Regions from separate parts of the Homo sapiens genome. Here region 2 is linked to region 1. The links are contacts of gene promoters, found by promoter capture Hi-C in blood cells and fetal thymus (Javierre and others, 2016). All regions are on one chromosome and are shown on one strand. The core of a region is centred on a gene start or on the middle of the fragment in contact, and the rest is flanking DNA. Distances in the headings are between cores, read along the strand shown.

Region 1 (2,727 bases), core at 85-2,584:
GGCAAAATTAAAACATTTAATTTAGGGGATAGAACCTATAACCAAGGTGTTTGCAAAGTCAGTTCAGTGAGATTCCTTGGGCTAACTTGATGTGTGAAAGGCCTAAGGAGAAAAAGAATCTTTTCAAATCCAGAAGGCAACTTCTTGCCAGCTATCAGGCTGGAGGCCCCTTTGGATCTTGTAGGCTGCATTTTATGAATTCATTGAGACTGTCTGTATCTTTGGTCAACTCTGTAAACATCTGATTGTGTCCACCATGATTCTTTCCTTTGGAACCCGACTATTTTTCTTTCAATTTCTGCCCCACAAATTCCTCACAGGTTCAACAACAAGCAGGCTTATTCCACAATCATCCTTATAAGTTTCCCTTACACATTAATGTTAACATCTGGTGTTACTCTATTTAGAACCTTAGTGCGAATATTCTACTTAGAACCCTAGGGCTTCAGCTCGGTCCCCACTGTTCATTACCCCGGTATAACTTTTTCCAAGCCCATAAGTCTCTCTAACTCTCCAAGAAGTCTGTCTTTAGTATTCAGCCACATTTCTACTACTAAACCAAGCTCTAGTTCTTGAGGTTCTCCAGGCTGTTTTCCTTCTCCATAAAATGAGAATAATGAGTGTACCTACCTTGTAAGATTATTGTGAGGATTAAATATGTTAGTACACATGATGCACTAAAAATATGTGGCCCATTGCAAGTGCTCAATAATTGTTCATTATAATCTTATTGAGCTACATGTCTTGTTTACTGGGGGTGATAATTCTCATTCACTGTTTGTCAAAGTGTTGCTCCTAGTTCAAAAGGATTTGATAAAGTGGGTAAAGGAGAGAAAACAATAAAAGTTTTCTCTCTGATTTTGAGCCTTGATGATTAGTTCTCGGGCTAATTTTAAACATGAAGATGATTTAGAGGAAAGACTAAATACTTTCCTTTCAGTTCAGGTCTGCTGGGTTCAACCCAGTTATTTGCATGAAAGGACAACAATAGCACTATTATGTTTATTTTTAAAAAAGATAAGTAGATCTTTCTTCCTCCCAGTGTCTCATGAGAATAGCGTGAATTCACAGGGACGGCACATGGAACCATTATATTCTCTTTACCCAAAATGGATACAGGACACATTAGCAATCTTAAGATGGAGAAACTGGGCAGAGAGATTGACTTAGGAGAGATGAAGATAATTTAATGTTAGACATGTGGTAGTTGAGTTAAAAATAAAGCATTTGGATAGAAAAATCTTCATGAAATTAAGAATGTGAAAGTATAGTGAGAGAAATTAGAATAAGAAAACAGATACAAAAATTTTCAGTGGTCTAAAGCTGACCTCTAAAACCATGAAAACAAACGTCTCCCTTGGGAGAGAATGCAGAAATAGAACATGAGGCTCCATTATCCCACTTTCATGTAAGATGTTTTTAAGCTCAGAATACTTTTGAGATTGCTCTTTGACTTCTTTTTTTTTCCAGAAACAAAACCATGGGCAGTGTATGCTGGGCTGTTAGGGGGTGTCATCATGATTCTCATCATGGTGGTAATACTACAGTTGAGAAGAAGAGGTAGGTGTCTGGCAATAAATAGATTCTTATCACACTCTCTGTGGTAAGCAGGGGACCTCTCTCCACAGGCTCGGACTTGCTCTCACAACTCTGGCTTTCTGCATGGGGCCACCTTTGCAAAAATAGTAGATAAACATATCCTGGGACCTTGCTTAATTCAGTCTAATTCAACATGTCTTGATCCCCTCTACTAGGCTGTGGAAAGAAATAGAAGAGCCACAGGTTTCTAATGTGAGAGACATTATTCAGATAATTTCAGTTTAGTGTGACTAGCACTGCCATCAGGGTAAACACAGGATGCTGAAGAAGTGAACAAGAGGTTTAAGAGTATTCACTGGGAACAGAATTCAGAAAATTATTGGATCTCATCCAAAAAGTCACCAGGGTTAGAATGAAACCAATAAGGCACAATTATTCCCCTGCAGTTGAAGTGCCTAGAGGTACCATCCCCTGTCCTCTCTTCCAAATTTCCCTATGATACAATATCTCAGGGCATTGTGCTCCCCTCAGCCACCTTGACTACTACCAACCAATACTGGAGTCAAAATGTCCTGACCCAAGACCAGGAGAGATGCCCCGGCTGCCTTCCCATGGTAAGGATAGAACTTGATCCTCATAACACTGAGCTGATGACTGATTTCATTCTCAAGTAGATCAGTGTCATCTACACACAACCTTCTTAGAAAAGCCCTTACCTCAGCACTCTGATGTTGGTTTTGCATATATAAAAAAATCTAGATCATAGCACAGCGACCTACTTGTGTCTCATTTCCTCCATCTAAGAGTTAGCCAGGTAGGAGGGATGGGTGATTCAGATAGAAATTAGGTTGACAGCCTATGGGGCTCGGGGTAGGGCAATCACATTTAGCTCATACTATAAGGAAATAGTGAGATGACCCAGGATGAGAAAACTGAACTTAACTTATCCACATTAACCTACCTAGTAAAATTGCTGGGATCCTACGCCATACTCTTTCCTCAACCACACTTGGCTTATCACATGGTTGTGCTCTAAGGGAATAGTGCTCCCCATCCCACAATTCCCCACTACCTTCCCCAACACACATACCCATCCTCACCTCAACCCCATTCACCATTTGTCCCTTGTAAGTTAGCAACACACAAAACTGCCTCAAACTTGCGGTAAAATTTATATTTAGTTGCTGC
Region 2 (2,727 bases), core at 162-2,661, 260 kb after region 1:
CAACCTTCTACCCCCATACTCTCCCATAGCCCAAGGAAGGTTCAGACACGGCCTGCAGAGGACACAGACAGATTTTTGGAGCTACCCTTATGGGACTCAGCTAAGGTTTGCTTGTCCTAGGACCAGAGGAGATCAGGGCAAGGCAGCACAAACATGGCCTGGGAAAAGCTGGGGAAAGGGCTTTGCTTGTGTGCAGTGTTAAAGGGGAACAGTGGGCCACTCACCATCAGCTCAACTAAGAATGATTAGAAACAGAAGCACCAAGGTGCCTGCACCATCACTATCTCCCCTTCCTCCCCAGCCCTGGCTTTCCTGTCTGATAGATACTCTCAAAGGGGTTAGGATCCTCCCAAGCCTTGCCCCACCCCACCACACAGAAGATAGGTTCAAGTCAAGCCAACAAACAGCTATGAAGCTCTGGAGGGATGCAAAGTCATCCACATCTGATGACAAGTACACACACAATCTTAACAGGAAACAGAAGGTGGTTAGTGCTGAAATTGAGAACACATTCCATATTCTGGGGTTCAAATGAACTATGGGGGGATGGCAATAGTGTGGGAGGCCCCAAAGTCAGCACCTCCCAGTACATGTTTAGTGCCCCCAACTCCCCACCCCCCATGCTGGGGCTGGGAGCAGGAGTTCAGCTGCGGAGTTCCCAACACATTTATCACATCTATCACAGGCTAATTCTCTCTGCCCGGTCCCTATGTTCCTTCATCCCTCATCACTTTGCCATGCCCTTCCTTCCCCTCTCCGTGCTCCCCATCTGGCCCCAGTCTCATCTCCACCTGGCCCCATTGTCCTCCCCAGTTCCAGTCCCGGCAGCAGCTTCTATTTACCCATCAAGTCCTCACCCCCAAATCCACTTCTGGTCTCAAAGTTCCAGGGTCCAAGGATCAGGGGAGCAGCAATTCCAAGCCTGCAGGACAGGACTTCCCACCCCACTTCTGCCAGCCCTAACCCAACTGAGGATAGATAGGCACAAAGAGTCGAAGGGGAGGAGTGGAGAAGAGGGACACGCGGAGACAGGGAGAGACACAGCGCACAAGGGAGAGAACTAGAGGGAGGCTCTAGGAAGGGGCTTGAGCCAGAGAATGGGAGGGACACGCCCATCCCTCCCCGCCCATGGTTTCCCCTTTACCTAGAAGGACCCTGTCAGGGGATCCAAGCCGGCAGGACAAGGGGCAGCGTTGACAGCCCCAGTCTCCTCTGGGTGCTCAAGGCTCATCCGTCTGCAAAGTTAGTGACCAGCTTTCTAGACTCTCAGGGGTAGCGTGGCATGGCTGTACAGGCTCCAGGGCAGATAAGAGGGGTACACATTGTGGGGGTGTAGGGCCCAGGTGGAAGTGGTGGGCTTGGCCAGGTACTGGGGCCAGCCACACTCACACACACACCCTCAGACACACACACCTGAGCTGGCCCAGCCCTATGTATATATATGGAGATACACACACACACCCCCAGCTCTCCATTGGCTGGCCCAGGCCCACCCCCCCCTCATCAATATTAAACAGCCAGGCCAGGCAGCCATTGGCAGAGGGATCTGGGAACCCCTCGGGAGCTGGGGGCGGGGGCTGGCCCTGGGTGGGGGCGGGGAGCGGGGGAGCAGGGACATCTGTTCTCCATGCATATTTCATAAGCAAGAAATGGAGAGCTGGGGAAGGGGTGGGGCTGGGGCGAGAGCCAGGGCAGGACCACAGATGAACCCCCTCAGTCTCCCACACCAGAGGCAGCAGGGCAGAGGCTCCCAGCAAGCTATGGTTAAGTGCCATGGCCCCATTCGGAGTCCCAGCGTGACTTGGACAGCCCCTTCCTGGTGTCTCTTTTTTCCTGAGAGGGAGACTCTTCAAGGTACTAACAGGGAAACCGAGAAAAGAGCAAGTGGGTAGCACTAAAATGCAGAAGAGGACCCTAGGGTCCTGGCCCTCAAGCTCTTATCCTTCATAAAGCTGGTACCCACTGCTTGCCAGCCTGCCTGTAGCAACTGTTCAGGCCCCTACCCTCATCACCCTGGGACTCAATCACCCCCATACCCTCTTACCCCACCCGCTATCTTCCTACCTAACCCATCACCAAGGGGAGGAGCAGGATCAAATTTGGGACACAGACCCCACAAGGAGTTTTTCTAGGCTGGCCAGCCCAACCTGACCCACTGGGAATTAGAGGGCTCTTAGGAAGAAAGAGGTAAGGGCTAAAAGGAGAGGAGTGGAGGAGTGCCAAGACAGGAAGAACCAGGATTGGAAGGACACTGGGAGAGGAGGGCAGGGCAGCCTAGGCAGGCTCTGAGTGTGTTTTGAGGGCATCAAATCAGCAATAAGAAAACCAGACACAAAATTATATGCAAATGGGCACTGATTAAGCTCCCATCAATAGCTCAGCAGCCTCCAGCATGTATATGCAAGTGTGTGTGAATGTGAATGTAAGTGTGAGTGTGTGTGTGTATGTGTGTGTTGCCGAGTGGCAGGATTGAGGAGGGGCAGCACAGGGACCAGAGTGCATAGAGAGACAGTGCATAGAGGGTTTCAGTGTCTGAAGTTCTCTCCCCACTCAGCTGTTGGATGTCTTCTCTGAACCTTTGAGAGTATTCAAAAGAACCATGACTGGAGAGGACTCCAGAGGTAGTGTGGTACAGTGAAAAAGGCTCTGTCAGCTGTGTGACCTTGGACAAATAACAACCTTTTGAGCCTGGACCTCTTTTCCTGTAAAATGGGGTTGATTATAGCT

What was found. Contacts are between HindIII fragments. The CHiCAGO score rates a contact against its expected background, and 5 or more counts as called.
Region 2: the fragment with the promoter of NHLH1 here is called in contact with a fragment that was not itself captured in region 1 in 3 of 17 cell types (naive B cells, total B cells and megakaryocytes); the score reaches 8.0 in naive B cells.

What each region holds. Positions count from the first base shown.
Region 1 is chr1:160,622,929-160,625,655 of GRCh38, reverse strand. SLAMF1 (signaling lymphocytic activation molecule family member 1) reads left to right here. Exons shown (of 7, transcript NM_003037.5): 4 at 1,471-1,560. Among named protein-coding and RNA genes, the nearest start is that of SLAMF1, 23 kb to the left of the region's middle. RefSeq lists an enhancer at 782-911. The HindIII fragment of the contact is 4,206 bases long and covers 1-2,727 here.
Region 2 is chr1:160,365,755-160,368,481 of GRCh38, reverse strand. It overlaps NHLH1 (nescient helix-loop-helix 1), which reads right to left and starts at 1,411. Exons shown (of 2, transcript NM_005598.4): 1 at 1,145-1,411. The HindIII fragment of the contact is 14,453 bases long and covers 1-2,727 here.